Regions from separate parts of the Homo sapiens genome. Here all the other regions are linked to region 1. Evidence: promoter capture Hi-C in 16 types of primary human blood cells and fetal thymus (Javierre and others, 2016). All regions are on one chromosome and are shown on one strand. The core of a region is centred on a gene start or on the middle of the fragment in contact, and the rest is flanking DNA. Distances in the headings are between cores, read along the strand shown.

What was found. Contacts are between HindIII fragments. The CHiCAGO score rates a contact against its expected background, and 5 or more counts as called.
Region 2: a contact is called between a fragment that was not itself captured here and the fragment with the promoter of CCL20 in region 1, in 2 of 17 cell types (M2 macrophages and M0 macrophages). The highest score is 5.5, in M2 macrophages.
Region 3: a contact is called between a fragment that was not itself captured here and the fragment with the promoter of CCL20 in region 1, in 3 of 17 cell types (M2 macrophages, M1 macrophages and M0 macrophages). The highest score is 10.8, in M2 macrophages.
Region 4: a contact is called between a fragment that was not itself captured here and the fragment with the promoter of CCL20 in region 1, in 1 of 17 cell types (M1 macrophages). The highest score is 6.2, in M1 macrophages.
Region 5: a fragment that was not itself captured here is called in contact with the fragment with the promoter of CCL20 in region 1 in 1 of 17 cell types (M2 macrophages); the score reaches 6.0 in M2 macrophages.
Region 6: a fragment that was not itself captured here is called in contact with the fragment with the promoter of CCL20 in region 1 in 1 of 17 cell types (M0 macrophages); the score reaches 6.4 in M0 macrophages.

Annotation. Positions count from the first base shown.
Region 1 is chr2:227,812,392-227,815,259 of GRCh38, forward strand. CCL20 (C-C motif chemokine ligand 20) reads left to right here and starts at 1,451. Exons shown (of 4, transcript NM_004591.3): 1 at 1,451-1,596. The coding sequence starts at 1,521. The HindIII fragment of the contact is 16,817 bases long and covers 1-2,868 here.
Region 2 is chr2:229,241,763-229,244,737 of GRCh38, forward strand. The region is part of intron 1 of PID1 (phosphotyrosine interaction domain containing 1); the gene reads right to left. Among named protein-coding and RNA genes, the nearest start is that of PID1, 28 kb to the right of the region's middle. The HindIII fragment of the contact is 3,298 bases long and covers 1-2,975 here.
Region 3 is chr2:229,417,416-229,420,490 of GRCh38, forward strand. It overlaps DNER (delta/notch like EGF repeat containing), which reads right to left. Exons shown (of 13, transcript NM_139072.4): 9 at 693-815. Among named protein-coding and RNA genes, the nearest start is that of PID1, 150 kb to the left of the region's middle. The HindIII fragment of the contact is 2,816 bases long and covers 336-3,075 here.
Region 4 is chr2:229,355,617-229,358,546 of GRCh38, forward strand. DNER (delta/notch like EGF repeat containing) reads right to left here. Exons shown (of 13, transcript NM_139072.4): 13 at 2,013-2,930. The coding sequence ends at 2,924. Among named protein-coding and RNA genes, the nearest start is that of PID1, 86 kb to the left of the region's middle. The HindIII fragment of the contact is 2,359 bases long and covers 492-2,850 here.
Region 5 is chr2:229,391,445-229,394,402 of GRCh38, forward strand. The region is part of intron 10 of DNER (delta/notch like EGF repeat containing); the gene reads right to left. Among named protein-coding and RNA genes, the nearest start is that of PID1, 120 kb to the left of the region's middle. The HindIII fragment of the contact is 938 bases long and covers 1,129-2,066 here.
Region 6 is chr2:229,263,866-229,266,612 of GRCh38, forward strand. The region is part of intron 1 of PID1 (phosphotyrosine interaction domain containing 1); the gene reads right to left. Among named protein-coding and RNA genes, the nearest start is that of PID1, 6.0 kb to the right of the region's middle. The HindIII fragment of the contact is 3,782 bases long and covers 1-2,747 here.

The sequences.
Region 1 (2,868 bases), core at 201-2,700:
AGTGAAAATGTGGTACCAAAGCTGTCAACTTTTATTGTTAAATTTCCTATTCTGCTGGGCACGGTGGCTCATGCCTGTAATGAGGTCAGGAGTTCAGCCTGGGCAACATGGTGAAACCACGTCTCTACTAAAAATACAAAAATTCGCTGGGCGTGGTGGCACGTGCCTGTAGTCCCAGCTACTCAGGAGGCTGAGGCAGGCGAATCGCTTGAACCCAGGAGGCGGAGGTTGTAGTGAGCCGAGATGGTGCCACTGCACTCCAGCCTGGGCAACAAGAGCAAAATTCTGTCTCAAAAGAAATTATAATAATAAAATAAAATAAAATTTCCTATTCTTCCCTTCAATTCTGTCAGTTTTTGCTTTCTGTAGTTTGGGGTGCTACTGTTAGGTATATATATGGTTATAGGTTTTACATCTTCCCAATGGGTTAATTTTGTGTTACCATGAAAGTCCCTTTTTATTTCCGGTAACATTAAAAAAAAATCTATTTTGTCTGATATAGGCATCACCAACTCCAGTTCTCTTTTGTTTACTGTTTGGTATACCTTTCTTTTGATCCTTTTACTTTCAACCTATTTGGGTCTAGTGGAGAGTTCTTATACTGCCTTAGGTTAGGGATTCATATTACATTATCATCATTAGTACTGTTATTTGACATTTGCTGTGCTGACTAGCTACTGCTGATAGGTTTTCTTTCCTCAACAATTCTGAGGCTCTATATTGAGTTATATTAGTACATCATCATGGAGAGTTAAAGGTAGGTAAGGATTATTTTCTGAACTGCAATATTGATTAAAGCCATGTGAATGTATAAGATTCTTAGAAGAGTTGACATTAAATCAAGGTGAAGCTGAGGTTTGAGCCTTACTTAAAGGCTGATATTTTCCACTCTAACTGCGGACAGTACTGTAGCACTGTTATAGTACCTGCTCTGAATGTTAGTCTAGCAACTCAGGGTCTTCTTCATGACAGCTGAACCTCAACCATGTGATGGTAAATGTGTAGCAGAGTATGCCTGGCATCCCACCTGCTCCTCCTCCCCCTCCTCCTTGACTGGTTCTGGAAAGCAAATAGGGTGTAACAATAGGAGTTCTGGAATGTTCCTGTGTGGGGCTGACCTTTGTATCGCTGTTAATCCTCTATTTTCAGACACAAAAATGATTAAGTTAAAACTGGATGAAAGTCTTTTCTGGGTCACAGGGCTGAGCTGCTTTTGCTCTTTGCAAATACAAAGAATTTAACAGGATTCTCCCCTTCTCAACTTCCTGTCCCCCACCCTGACCTTCGCACCTTCCCAATATGAGGAAAAAGCAGGAAGTTTTCCTTGCGGGTTTTTTTTATGATGACATGATGGGGCCAGTTGATCAATGGGGAAAACCCCATGTGGCAACACGCCTTCTGTGTACATTCCCAATATTTGCTATAAATAGGGCCATCCCAGGCTGCTGTCAGAATATAACAGCACTCCCAAAGAACTGGGTACTCAACACTGAGCAGATCTGTTCTTTGAGCTAAAAACCATGTGCTGTACCAAGAGTTTGCTCCTGGCTGCTTTGATGTCAGTGCTGCTACTCCACCTCTGCGGCGAATCAGAAGGTAAGTGTCGCTCTTTCCGCTAGCACAGAAGAAAGACTATTTTCATTTTCCTTTTAGCCTTGAGCTCAACTGGGGGTCCCTAAGGGATGGAAAACTGTTAGGAAGTATACAAGAGGTAGTGATGGAAGTTGTCTGCCCATGGTGGAGTGGAGGAGAGAAGAGTTACTGCTGCGGATCAGGCTTTCCTCTCTGCTGTCAATCTCAGCAGATTTGGGGAGTGGTGGGCTCTTAGAGATCCCTAAACTTCAGGATAAAGCCAAAGTGATGTTTCTGGGAGTGATATAAAGTGTGTAATGTTACCAGTAGATGGGGCCATTTTGAAATGTAGAGAATCCTCCTGTGTCCCCAACTTTCGTACCTCCCAACTTAATAGTTTTGGTAAAGTTCAAAACTCATCCTTTAGAAGTAGATTATAATACCTGACATCAACATCCCCACAAGGCATGGGGGACATTGCTTGCCAACTTTAAAATAACATTAATCCCTTACCTTACAGCATGTTGTAATCTGACTCGGGAATGTCCAAGTATTGCTTTATTGCTCAATAGTCACACAACACTTTTAGCAACAGGTGCATTCCTAAAAATGCACATTGAATTTTTTTTTTTTTCTGAGGCAGGGTCTAACTTCATCACCCAGGCCAGAGTGCAGTGGCATGATTACAGCTCACTACAGCCTCAACCTCCTGGAGTCAAGTGAACCTCCAGTCTCAGCCTCTTGAATAACAGGGACCACGGCCGTGTGCCACTCACCTGGCTAATTTTTTTACATTTTTTTTTTTTTTGTAGAGACAGGGTTTCACTGTGTTGCCCAGGCTGGTCTCGAACTCCTGGAGGCAAGCAATCCTTCCTCCTTGGCCTCCCAAAGTGCTGGGATTACAGGCATGAGCCACCATGCCCAACCACATGTTGAACTTTTATGAACAAAATTAAACATTCCTATTAATTAATAGGACAATTTCAAAGTGTTTTCACTCCTATAAATCATATTTCCCTTTGTAGCTCTATTTCTCAATACTTAGTAGCCAGATAATAGATTAAAATCTGCCAATTTATTCATTTTCTGCTTTTGGAAGTTTATCTACATAAGGGTTCCTTCAAGCAGTAGGGAAGGGGCTGCTCATATTCTTGAATGATTATAGTGAACTGAAATGAAATATTGTCAATTTGTATTTCTTACTGAAGATATCCCACTTATGAGAAGTCCTGTGTTTCTCAATTCTATTATTGAACCAAAACTTCTCGGCACACAAACTGTTTTTTCAAAGAACTG
Region 2 (2,975 bases), core at 304-2,803, 1.4 Mb after region 1:
AAAATAGAATCTTTTCATTTTTTCACCTGCTTTCTTACAAAAGTTACCTTTTTTCAAAACTCACATATAACAAAATGCTTACATATAATACAGAACTGTCTTGCTCCCATCTTCACCACTTTTGACAAATTCATAAACCTCTATAAGTACCCTTTTTCTCCCTTGTAAAATACTAGTAACTAGTAACTAGTAACACAGTACCTCTTAAGCACAGCATCAGGTACAGAGCTATCACTCAGTAAATCAGTGTTTTTGTTTTTGTTTTTGTTTTTGTTTTTGTTTTTGAGATGGGATCTCACTACATCATTATTTCACCCAGGCTTTTCTCAAGCTCCTGAAACTCAAATGATCCTCTGGCCTTGGCCTTCCAAGTAGCTGAGATTACAGGTGGGAGCCACCATGCCTGGCTAGTAAATAGCTATTTTTAAAGTCAGAGACCTCTACCTCTAGATCATGAGGTGGAAAAATATTTAATCCAACAACTAAAATAGAGTTTTCCTGTTCTGCCTAATTAGAGGCCAGCTAAAATCAAAACTCACAGCACTTGCTATGACTCAGCTCACTCCATATAATAAGAACTGCATGTCCACAAGCTAAAATATAGCTTAGTTATAGGTCCAAAAGAAAAACCCGTGATTCTACACCCACCCTATCCCACTGCCACCTGAAATATGCTGCTTCGACTGGTAAAACTGGCTGACTCCATATCTGGCCTCATGCTCCACTCAGCTGCCTACACTAGGAACCTCAGGACTCTCCTCTACATTTCCCGTCCTCTCTAATCAGCTGTCAACCCATTCTGCCTCTTCACCCTCACTCAAAACCTCTGCCACCTCCTCAACCCCAAAGTCACTGCTTTAGATGACATCTTCATCCCCTTTTGCCTGTACCATTTCCAACAGCCTCCTTAAAACATTTCCCTGCTTGCAATACATTTTCTATACCACCAACAGAATCATCTTAAAACCAATCTGAGTCATTTGTTACCTATAAGCTCCCAATAGTTTCCCAGTGCCTAGAAAATGAAGTCCATGCTCAGTAACATCCTATAAAATGTTGTGCTATAGCCCAGTTGTGCTTCCATACTCTTTCACTCTAGTCCTTCTCCAACCCTTCAGCCTCATGTGATGTGCTCACTCTTGTCTGGAACAGCCTGAGTTCACAGCTCTGTGAAGATTCTTCCCTATGCCTAGGGTAATCTTCTCTACCTACCAAATGCCTATTCATCCTTATATTAGTCCATTCTCACGTTGCTGATAAAGATATACCCAAGACTGGGCAATGTACAAAAGAAAGAGGTTTAATGGACTAACAGTTCCACATGGCTGGGGAGGCCTCACAATCATGGTGGAAGGCAAGGAGAAGCAAGTCACATCTTACATGGATGGCAGCAGGCAGAGAGAGCTTATGCAGGGAAAGTACCATTTTTAAAGCCATCAGATCTCGTGAGATTTATTCACTATCATGAGAACAGCATGGGAAAGACTCACTCCCATGATTCAATTACTTCCCACTAGGTTCCTCCTACCACACATGGGAATTGTGGGAGTTACAATTCAAGATGAGATTTGGGTGGGGACAGAGCCAAACCATATCAATCCTTAAACAGGTTACATCGTCTTCTTTGTGAAGGGTTCCTTTCTAGGGCAAGGTTTATAATTCCCCACTCTGCTTTTATTATAGCACTGATTCTGCTGTACTGTAATTACTTATCCATAGGTCTATTGCGTCCTCAAGACTGCGCACTCCCAGAAGACAATGACAATGCCTGGTATAGTACCTGGCTCAGAGTAGGTGCTCAAGAAACATTTGTTGAATTAATAAATGAATATCACCTTTAAAAAAATTTTCTGTAGCTAACATTCTACAGGTACGTGGCATTTGAATATGAAGCCCAAAGATGAAAAACAAGAATGAAACAAAGTATCTGCCTCACAGTAAATCCCACCACCCAAGGGAACTAATCAAATAAAACAATAAATAAGGAGGCTTAGTATTAATCTCAATCATCTTTATCTGTATTCCTCCAATACCAAGAGAAATGAAACTCATGTATTTTTACACAAAGTTACATCTACACCATTCAAAGCCCAATTTAGTAACTCTCAGCTTTTCCTAGCTCATACATTTTTGTTATAATGCTTTCTTTTCAGATCATCTAAGTTTTTTTAAAAAATCATCTTATCTTGGTTTTTGTCAAGCAAAGGTTAATATTGGATACTTTAATCACAAAACTCATGTTTGGCACTGGGTCTTGGCAGAAAGCCCCACGTGTAATTTCTCTGGGACTAAATTACTCATTTCTAATATAAACATAAGAATAAAGCAAAAACTAGCATTATGTAAACAAAATATGTTATTTTTTAGTTCTCAACTGAAAACTCATGCAACCTCATTTAACCACTATTTCAATGAGACATGGGATTTTAATGTGACACAAGACAAACCAGGATCCCTTGTTAAGCAGTCAGCATAGTCCAAAAGAACCCCATACCCAGTAGCCTTTTTCCAGTCAAATTTTTAAGCAGTCTGGTTTCATTTTTTCCAAATACAGAACCAAGTATCCCTGATTCTTATCGTCATCCAAACAACTGCAACCAGCTGTGAAAACTAGAACTAGGAATCAAGTCTGTCTATAGGGAGTCCCCTCAAAGCTACTAAGCATGACTGTTTTCATCAACAAATATTCATGACCCTATTTTCCAAAATTCCAACTCTGCCAACCATTTCATTTTAAAAAGAGAGAAAGCAAATGAGACAGAAAGAGAGATTCAATCCTTTAAAATCCTTTAATTTTTCTTCCTTTCAACTCAGTCAAAATTAGGTAACCTCTCATAAGAAAGTTAATTATCTTCTCCTCTTTTGGGATTTTATTTTGTAACCCCCCAAATAATGCATTTATTACAAACACAAGATACCTCTTCTATTGCCACAATCCTCACATATTATCTAATCTGCAAAAGCAATTCCCTACT
Region 3 (3,075 bases), core at 494-2,993, 1.6 Mb after region 1:
AATAGGTTCTCCTGGAACAGGGCCGTCTGAGGATATCTGGGCTCCAGGAAGCCTTGCCATCCACAAAACGTGGCCAGAGGCCAGTGAAGATGCTGGGAAAGGGCTTTAGGAACCACGCTGACCAGGCTTATAGGGGAAGAGCATTACTGTCCACCTCATAGGGTTCTCGGGGGGATTTAGTGAGCTATGCACATTAGGGGTTAGAACGGGGTCCACACATTGGAAACACTCTGTCAATGTCGCCTGTTTTTAATAAGCATTAACTTACTTGCTGATACATGGGACTCCGCCTGCCTCCTCCCCAAGAAAGCACAGCATTCTATCTCTGCATAAGAAGCTTTATAGGACGGCATCCTTCCTCTTCCACAGTTTTCACAGCCATGGTCTCTAACCTATGTCTGACAGTCCATCTTAATATTACTTTTTGTTTTCAGCTTTTTACACATTCAATAAAAAAGAAAGCGAGGATCCACAAAGAACAGGACAGGAAAGGGGGTTGTTTCTCAATCTATCAGGAAGAAACCAGAGACTTGCAAATTGGTCTCCTTGGACCGATTAATCATGCCAGCTTCAGCATTTGATTGTTATTCTGAACAATTCATGGTCCAATTAGAGGTTTATGCATTTACACTGAGAAATACATGACGTCATTTAGAGCCATTCTGGCACAGGAAGGCCAGGCGGCCTCTCACCTTTGTATTCTGCCAGGCACACACACTCATAGCCATTAACGAGGTCCCTGCAGGTGGCTGCATTCAGGCATGGAGCGGAGAGGCACTCATTATATTCCTCCTCACAGTAGAGGCCATGGTAACCTGAGGGACAGAGAGAAAGGCCCACTGTCAAATGCATCCCATTTACAACCCACGCGGGACCAGCCTGCAAGGAAGGCAGTTGGGGGTATTCATTAGAAAGTATGGTATAAACAGATGGGATTTCAGGAGCTAGATCTCTTGGGGTAAAGTTGAAAGGTGGATTTGGGGGAAGGCTATGAAGAAAGCGCCTGTTCTTATCACACTTTTTCATGATCCCAAGTATAAAAGAAGTGATTCCATTTATCCACTGACATTTTCATCATAGTGCATCCAACAGTGCTGGTGTTAGGGTGATCCAGTCACTGAGTGTGTCTGCTGTGGCCATCAGAGATAGTGAATGAGCAGGATTTACGGCAGGGGAGGAGCAAACAGCTCCCTTCAAGAGTGAGAACCTGGCTCGGTGTGGTGGCTCATGCCACCACAAAGTGCTGGTAATCCCAGCACTTTGGGATACCGAGGCAGGTTGATCACTTGAGCTCAGGAGTTCGAGACCAGCCTGGCCAACATGGTGAAACTCTGTCTCTACTAAAAATACAAAAAATTAGCCAGGCGTGGTGGCGGGCGCCTGTAATCCCAGCTACTCAGTAGGCTGAGGCAGGAGAATCACTTGAACCTGGGAGGCAGAGGTTGCAGTGAGCCAAGATTGTACCACTGCACTCCAGCCTGGGCGACAAGAGCAAAACTCCATCTCAAAAAAAAAACAAAAGAAAACAAAAAGTGTGAGAGCCACATTAGAAAAGTATATCTGTATTTCCTTTTCAAGTCAGAAAAGAAAATTAGCTCAAAATGCTTAACTGAAATTATTGATGAAATGTGAGGGTATTTTTGTTGTTATTGCTTGTTTAAAGATATGATTATATAAATTATAATATTTTAAATTGTACCTAAATGTTTAAATTACTAAAGAAATAATCATGTGAGTGAAGAGAAAATAAACCCACAATTTCTTGATAAAGTGGATTTTACCCTCCTATTTGCAAAACAGGTGTTTATTCTAAAGGACAAGAAGACAACATTCTTTGAGATTCATTCATGAGGGTTATGCTGTTTTCAACTTTTGAAAACATGTGTTACTGCCAATTTGCAGTGAAACCAGGCCATTTTTGTCCAGCCCTGTCCAAACAATGAAAAACATGTGAGTGTTTTCAAAAGTCACACTGACTGTGTTCGTTCTGAATTCAGATAAGCAGAAAAAATAAGCCCTTATCCAAGTAGGAATTAGAACTACTAGCTTTTCCCTAGCCTTTCCAGCTCACAACCAACTCTCAAACTCAGAAAGTCCCATTAGAACATGCTAATATGTTGAACTGCTTTGTTTCTTGTGCCTATCATAAAAGTAGGTTAAGCTCATATTTGCATTATTAACAGAGCACTTTTCAAATATGTTGCCATTTCAGTTGTTTTTGAACAGCTTTCCAAATTTAGGTTGTGATAATGGCCCCTTTGAGGAGCCCTTGACCTACCTAAGACAAATATACTATAGTTTTCAATTCTTCTGAAAAGTAGTATGTTACCCTACTTTTTGTAACTTTAGGGAAATATTTCTATTACCCTTCATTAGATTATTTTCATCATGTAGATAAGAGGTACTCAACTAGCAGCAATTTTGTCCCCCAAAGGACATTTGAAAATGTTTGGAGACATTTTTCGTTGTCACAACTGGAGGCAGGGGGAGGGGTTGCTGCTGGCATCTAGTAGGCAGAGTCAAGAGTGCTGCTAAGCATCCTACAGTTCTACAGGAGGCTGCGCAGGACAGCCTCTCACAACAAGACTATCCAGAAAAAAATAACAATACAGCCAGGTTGAGAAACTCTGTTCTAGACCAGGGGTCAGCAAACTATGGCCCACAGATGAAATCTATCCCAGCCTGTTTTTGCAAATAAAGTTTTATTGGGACACAGCCACAGTCATGCATTTACATATTGTCTATGGCCGTTTTAACACTACAACAGAGGACTGAGTGGTTGCAACAGAGACCATATGGCCTGCAAAGCCTAAATATTTACTGTCTGGCCCTTTGCGCAGAACAAGTTTGCTGATTCTTGATTTAGATTCAATGAAAGATCTTTCTTTTAACAAGAGTTTTGGATATTAACCCCTTATCAAATGTATTGTTTGCAAATATTTTCTGCCATTCCATAGGTCACCTTTTCATGCTGTTGATTGTTCCTTTGTTATGCAGAACCTTTTAAGTTTGAAGCACCACTTGTATATTTGTGCTTTTGTTGCCTGTACCTCGGATATCATATCCAAGAAGTCA
Region 4 (2,930 bases), core at 421-2,920, 1.5 Mb after region 1:
ATTTCTAGATGGCAGGGATCCCTGTCATTACATGTAGTTGCTTTGGCTTGTGAAGACTCACATATTAGAGAACTAATTATGGCTACACTGAGTTATAAGACCACCATCAGTTCAAGAATTCTGGAGTAGTAGTTAACTCTGGCTTATCAAGTACTATTTTCACAGCTAGTGCAAAGTAACAACTTGAGACGGTGGAGTTTTGACACCCTTAGAGAATGTGCTCCCTGCTCTAGAAGGACTATTCCTCACACATATCACAATGTACTAACTGCAGATCCCAATCATTAATCATAAAAGCGAGGGTACTATCCTACTTTGTGATCATGTCTGAATGTAAAACAAGAACAGCAGCAACAACAACAATAGCTAACGTGCTGAATCTTGGTGGGCGCTGGAGGGAGGCTAAGTGATACACACACAGTCTGGCATCCAATGCTCACAACGATTCTTCAAGGGAGGCCCTATCATGATCCCCATTTTTCAAATTTTGAAGCTTAGACCCAGAGAGCTACTTGTCCAAAGTCATTACCAAGTAAACAATTGAAGTAAGGTTTTAATCTACTCTGCTACAAATAAGCTGCCCTATAGTGGAGTTTACCTTTCCTTCATGGTGCTCTATGAAGTGTAATTCTATATTTATTTGTTTGTTAGATGAAGGTCTGGTTCAAAACAAGCTATAAGCTCGGGAGGCAGGATCCTCTGGTAGGGCTCTTGTCGGTCAGCATCTGCCTGACAAAGAATAAGTGCTCGATGAGATGAATTCTTATCATTGAATGTCCAAATGAATGAGCAAATGTCTTTAGATATATTTGGTGGCCACTCTCAGATGGTCAGAAGGCTCTGCCCAAGATCTGAATTTGCAAGCTCCATTAATTGGCTTTCAAGGGACAAACTGTGATTGATAAAAGACTTTAGTTTTTTAAACAAGTCCTTTAAGAGACATCGCATATAATGAATTTAAGACTTTGGGAGATTGAAAATGATTTCAGAGGGTGTGATTGAAGCAGCTTGCAAATGAAGACCAATAAGCAAAAAAGACACGGAGGCTCAGACAATGTCCAGGTGCTCGTGGGGGTCAAGAGGCAAATGGAGTACAACTCACACCTTTTCATGGCCCTCTCCTATCATCGATCAAGAAGTGTCTGAGCAACACACAACCAAAGGGTCTTTTATAGGAAGATGGGAGTAAGTATGTCTGCACAACACTCTGCTGCATGTTCCCATGACTGTTTAACCAACCAAGTTAATATTTTGTACTTACCTTACTTCCACTTAACTGAAAATATTAATGTATTGCACTGTATCATTTAATAATCAGAATGTGGGTGTACTGCTGTGTCATTTGTAGGATTAGGAACAGATGTTTTGAGGGTAGAGCGGGAAGGAAAAGAACCTTAAATAATTCTTTTTGCTTAAAACTCTCCCTCACACCTGGTTCCAGGACTCCTCTTGGCCTTACCTGACGTTCCTGTGTACAGTTAAAAATGCATTTTTAAAAATAACTCTGGGACTTCAGAGCAGCATTTGGATACAAAATGGAACTGAATATAGGGTGGCTCTAAACGGCCTTCAAGTTTCTAAGAACCATGGAGCTATTTGCTAAGGCAATTTCATTTAGCCTCCACAGGATAGCAGCGCCTCCACAGGATAGCAGCACGCAAGGTATTTCTTGAGGCCACAGGTGCCTGCCCTCAATGCCTGGAAGCATCTCCGGATTCCAGTGTGCCCACCGTTCACTTGTGCTGCATTTCACTGGCAAATTCGGATATAAAACTTCAGATAAGAATTCTTATTTTTTTTCCACACTTCACACTGACAAGCAGCTAGGGTGAGCTTACTGACAATTAGGAGGTCAGAAAGCCTTGCAGAGGCAAAGGAGGGGGCTCCGGCAGCCACAGAGGTGCACTCCTCAGGTTATTTAATATGGTATCAACCATGGGATTGTTTGGCAAACAATATCACATCCAAAACTTTTTATATATAGTTTTCAAAGAACAAAAGAGACAACTGCATCCTTGACTTGATCACATTTATTCAATATGGTTGGAAATTAGCAAGAATCAGAAGAAGCACATATCAATCAAATACAGCCACAAAAACATCCTGGAGATAAATAAAGCTGCACTATGAGAAATACTCACTACTGAAGGAACCAGTACTCTCTTACATTTACTACCTCTTAGCAACAAACAACTCAAATGTAAATTTAATTTACTCACAATATAGAACCCTTGACTTTTTAAAGAAAAATATAGATTCAAATCAATCAGAATTTGCCTCGCTAGGCCTTTTCGTTACGTATGTTTTTGAGGCCTAGTTCGACGACTGTTACGAAAATGACAAAAACAAACTCGAAAGAATGTTTCCACAAAGTTCAACAAAACAGTGCAGAAATAAGTTACTTACCCATGCACAGAATAAGGCAAAGGCTAATTTCATTCGGGTTAGGAATAGTAAATTTAACTAGTTTCTTTTCCACAAAACGAACATTTCAGACTTCTTTTTAAGTAACGGGTATACTCTATTATACATCATATGCTACGTTACGTGGTTTTCCTAACTCTACTCAGAAAGCCGGCACTCAAACGTCAAACAGAAACTTCTCCTTGATTAGACTTATTCTGTAACAACCACAGAAATTAATCTGGGTCTCGTGATAGTGTCTACAGTGAAAAGAGCACACACTAGTAGAAGCACACAGTTTAGAGAGCTGAAGGTACATTAAAACATCGTCTATAGGTTTCACAAATTTTGTTTTTAAAATATTTTTTCCAAACTAAAAGCTGCAGAAAATTAGTTCTTAAATATTCTACTGAAAACTCTTGAGCAGCTAGCATTTTAAATTTCTTAAGCTTTTTATTTTCTTAAAAATATTTAAATGAGTGTAGTATCTCATCTTTTTGAAAAATAATCCAAAAAAAGATTACAAA
Region 5 (2,958 bases), core at 348-2,847, 1.6 Mb after region 1:
TTGAATAACATCTATTGAGAAAATACAAAATGAAATTTCTACTTGACTAAGGCTAGCAATCAAGGTCTGAACTTTAAATCTTTTATAATTCTTTTTTCTTTTTTCTTTTTTTTTGAGACAAAAATCTCACTCTATCACCCAGGCTTGAGTGCAGTGGCACAATCTCGGCTCACTGCAACCTCCGCCTCCCAGGTTCAAGCGATTCTCCTGCCTCAGCCTCCCCAGTAGCTGGGATTACAGGCGTGTGCCACCATGCCCAGTGAATTTTTTGTATTTTTAGTAGAGACGGGGTTTCACCATGTTGCCCAGGCTGATCTTGAACTCCTGACCTCAGGTGATCTGCCCACCTCACCCTCCCAAAGTGCTAGGATTACAGGCATGAGCCACCATGCCCAGCCAAATTTTTTTTCAATGTACTACCTTCTGTGAGGCAATATGTAAGTACAGTGGGTATCACATTTGGTAGTACTTATGTAGATTTACAAGCATACTGATTCTGCTTGCTTTCCTTGGGTAAATTAAGAAATGCAAAAAGACAAAACCATCCAAAGTCACCGCTGTTAGTAAATCCTTGGGTTAACAGAGTCCCCACTAAAAGATATTGATGACAATTACTATAATCATAATATCTAGTATTAAATATATGCCTCCTACATGCCAGGCACTGATTGGGTGCTTTGACTATAAATCTTTCATATACTTCACTAAGAGTTTATTCAAGATAAAGTGAGTTTTAAAAATTATTTCTAACTTTTTTTTATCATGATGGAATAACTGGCACCTGTCTTGCCTTCCCACTGTAAACAACTAGACAACTAGATGAAATATATGAAAAAAAAAAAAAACTATGAAGACATTGGACAACAGGAAGTCCATGACTGTGATTGCTGCAAGAAGGGAAATAAAACAGCTGAGCACCACAATCATTCTGGCTTTCTTCCTGGAATTAATTTAGAACACAGTGGTTTCACTGGCTTGAGGAGACAAAGATCAGAGTGTGTGGAGGCCAAGGTAGCTGTAATTTGTAGGAAAGACCACAACACAAGATAGAACCACTCAGAAATTGAGCACCAGAAATCTGCTGCATCCCGTAGGCTGTTGCTGAAGACGTGTGTGTGTGTAACTTGAAGCTTGGCAAACAAAATGACAGATGAGCAGTTCCCAAACTCACAGAGGACTGAGAAATATTCAGATTTGCACTGCCAGAGTGGAACTATTTAATGGATTACCCAGTACAGTCAGTGAAGCCACAAAAGATCACACCTTAGTAATGGGGCACAACTATCCCTAGAGTAAGGCTACTCTACATTCACCTCCCCAAAATGTACAACAAACCTTGAAAGGATTAATTAGGTCAGCAAGTTACTTACCTGACACAAAAAAAGTCCATTACTTTTTTTAAAAAAGACAATAAAATCCAATCACTCAACAACTTAATCCACAATGACCATCATTCAAACAAAAATTATTAGACATGCAACAAAGTAGGCTCACGTGACCCATAACTGCATGAAAATCAGTCAAAAGACACAAATTCAGAAACAATGGATGAGAGCTAGCAGACAAAAAATGTGTTCAAAATGTGAAATAAAATATAAAAAACAATGAACAGAAACATGGAAAATAAAAAACAAGCCCAATGGAACTTTTAGATATGAAAAATACAATATCTGAAATTGTTTTTAGAACCCAATGGTCTTAATAGTAGACTAGTGACTCACACCTGTAATCCCAGCACTCTGGGAGTCTGAGGCGGGCTGATCACCTGAGGTCAGGAGTTCGAGACTAGCCTGGGCAACATGGCGAAACCCCGTCTCTACTAAAAATACAAAAATTAGCCAGGTGTGATGGCACATGCCTATAATCCCAACTACTCAGGAGGCTGAGGCAAGAGAATCTTGAACTAGGGATGCAGAGGTTGCAGTGAGCTGAGATCACGCCACTGTACTCCAGCCTGGGTGACAGAGTGAGACTCCGTCTCAAAAAAAATAAAAATAAAAATAAAAAAATAGTAGATTAGACACTGCAGAAGAAAATATTAGTAAAGTTGAAAACAGAACAATAGAAGCTTGACAAACTGAAACTCAGAAAGAAAAAAGACTTTTTAAAAAACTAAGTAGAAGCTGAGCACAGTGGCTCACACCTGTAATCCCAGCACTTTGGGAGGCTGAGGTGGGTGGATCACGAGGTCAGGAGATCGAGACCATCCTGGCTAACACGGTGAAACCCCGTCTCTACTAAAAATACAAAAAATTAGCCAGGCGTGGTGGCGGGCGCCTGTAGTCCCAGCTACTTAGGAGGCTGAGGCAGGAGAATGGCGTGAACCTGGGAGTTGGAGCTTGCAGTGAGCCGGGTTCATGCCACTGCACTCCAGCCTGGGCAACAGAGCGAGACTCCGTCTCAAAACAAAAACAAAAACAAAAACAAAAACAAAAACTAAGCAGAGACTCTGACCCATTGGACAATTTTAAGCAGTCTAACATAGATGTACTCAGAATCCTAGAGAAAGGATATGAGGCCAAAAATAATATTTAATAAATTAATGGCTAAAAATTTCCAAGTTTGATGAAAACTGTAACCACAGATTCAAGATGTGCAACAAACCCCAAGCAGGATAAACACAAGAAAACCACACACACACACATCATAGTGCAGAAGCGAAAGCAACTGCATCTTGGATACTGATTAACCCCAGTTCCAGGAATGCCTCTAAGGATTCCAGTTTATGTACTGTTCCTTGTACAAGAACAGATACTTACCATAAATCCTGCCCTTCGGTCAAAACAACCTTGATGTTATTGTACTTCGATTGTCCTGCACATCCCTTCTGAACCACCTCTCCCTCTGTGGATCATAAGCCTTGGGTCCGAAGGGTAATGGTGTGGGTGTGGGGATCCGCCATCTTGTTTCCCCACTGCCCAAGACACAGACAGGCTTCTCTTCGTAAGTCCCTATTAA
Region 6 (2,747 bases), core at 192-2,691, 1.5 Mb after region 1:
GACAGGTCAGTGCTGGGAACACAGTAAATACTAAGAAAAAGGTGGCTGCTATTGTTATTATTACTGACACTACTACTAAATAAGCCTGCAATGAATGGTAGCTGACATTTCTTGATTTTCTCCATACTTGGAAATGAGTATGGCTGGAAAAGTAAAAATCACCAATAAAACCCAATTAAATGAGAGTCTGCTAGCAGCACTGCTGGAGTGGAAGGAAATGTTGCTTCTGGGACCCTGACCACAGCACCCCTTCTCTGTGCCCTGTTTGAGAATACTTGCCACGCTATATAACCTTCTAGCTGTGGATAGTTGGGAGCAAACATGCATTTGATGGCTTCTAGAACGGCTTCACTTATCTAAAATTTCTTTTGGAGGAGTGGACTCTCAACTCAGTAGTATACATGAAATTTCCCAATAGTCAACTTCAGCACGACTTCCCTTACTACATTTATAACATGAGAGAACTAACACTTCATCCTGACCTGGAGACCACCGCCTGGCAGAAACTAAAGGAGATATAAGAGGTATGTCAACTCAGACCATTTTCAGGATAGTCACACCCAGGCCTCTCTAAAACAGGGACCCAAGTGATCAAGGGCCACAAGGTATGTGGCCCCCAAGTCCCAGCCCAGCTCACCCATACCCTAACACCCACTATCATATATGAACCTCCATCATCTTCACCCCCAACTGTAAAGACAATTGCATTCTGTGCGTCGCACTTTCCTATACATTGAGAATAAAAGGAGCTTCCCCAAGTGAGGAGACAGAGACAAGTGGACAGTGAGCAGGTCATTAACATACTGGTTCTGGCTTATAAAGCTGAGCTAGCTAGGGATCTTCTTCATATGAACAGAAACACTGAAAGTTACAATCATACTAGGAAATATATATTAAGTCCAACTTTGAACAATAAGGAATAGGACCGTGAGTCCTCTAAGTTTACAACTATGCCCTTCTTCTCACCCTTCACCCACACCCAGCATAGTACTTGGGACGTAGTAGATGGACAAGAAAGATGGACAGAAGAGAAGACAGGAGCTTAGATCTAAACTCAACACTCCATTCCTACAGTGACCAACCATAACAACATTAAGAAGTGCTTCTGTTTATTGAGCACCTACTATACGCTACATACCAAAATCTCTGCAAAGCACATCTCTCTATTTTACAGATAGGGAAAGCAAAGCTCAGAGAAGTTACAAAACTGAAACATTGCTAGTAAGCGATTGTGTCAAAATTATTTATAAAGAGACAGATATGCTTTTTTTTCGTTATTTTTTTTTTACCCAAATGATTTCTTATTCAGGAAACAACCTGGCTAAGAAGGCCATTACTGGAGCCTCCCTTATCAAAGTAAGAACTCGGTTGAAACATAAGAGGGCAGAGGAATCCTGGGCCATCAGGCATGGGAAAGAAGACCTCAGCCAGATTATTGATCCACGTGGCATCAGCATTAAGTGGAAGAGCATGTCAAGATGCTGGAAGCATTGAAATATGCCAGTCACAAAACAAGTCTGTGTCTTTTCCCTGACACCTTCCTTTTGCAGTCTTTGGCCTCAAGGGTTGGACCTGGTGAATACACTGATGCTTTATCACTGATTAGCAGCTAAATAGGGATCACAACTTTTTTTTTAAGTGAACACAAAATGACAGTAGACTAATTCCACTAGACTTTAAGGAGGTCTTTGGACAAACGACTCAACTATTTCTTCTTGCTCTACTTATATAAAGCCTCTGTTTAAATTTGTGTCCACAGGGCTGAAAGAAGCACACTGCAGTCATTGAGTGTTCTGGACTAGTTTTATTTCCTGACCACTAACAAGTCCCTGAACTGCTGCTATTCACAGAATAAAATACCTTGTAGAAGGCAGCCTGATCTCCAGTACCCTTGAAGCTGTAAGGCTGATTCTCCCAGAGTCTCCTCCAAGGCTAATTTTCATGGTAGAATGGGGTCAGTGTGGAGGGGTATTGGTATGGGAGGGACCTAATCTGGAACATCAAACAAAATGCAAAAGTTGCCTAACACTCCAAGATAACTCAGTACAGTCAACACGAAACAGCCATTAGGCCATGGTTAAGCAAGGGGCACAGAGTTTGTTCCCAGGCTAGGATTTTGCAAATCGCTTGAAAGAGATTTGCTGACAAACTTGGAGAAAGACTCAATGATGTAAGATAGCATTTTATTCCTGAGGGAGACTAAGGCCCCGGATTAATGACAACTCCTAGTTTTCTTTATGAACAATAGGGCCCGATGTTTTGTGCTTACTCAACTACAATTGATGAAAACAACAACAAAATCTAGAATGGGTTTAGTGAGAAACCTGTGCCTCTGTAATAATAGCTGTTGCTTTTTTCTAAGCAACCGCTCTGAAAATCTCCAACCTCCTCCCTCCTTCTCCCCATTTTTTTTTTGTCTAAACTTGGAATGAATGTGTACACAATCCACCCTAATCACCGGCTTTCAAGGTCTCTAGTTTGGATAAATGCTATGTGCTTCAGCTGAAAAGCTCTTCAATGGCACTTGTGAATTTTAACTTCAATAGGAGACAGCAGCTTATGTGCCACCAAAGATTTGAGCCACCAAAAACAGAGTAGCCTTTGGTCAACCCACTGCTTCAGCAAGAAATAGGACAGCAGCCTCTCTGAGCCCACAAAACAGTCATTGCTCTAACTGTATTTATTAATAACAACAGCACCAACATGTACATTGCACTGTGCCTGTCTTATCCTTCTGCACTATGGTG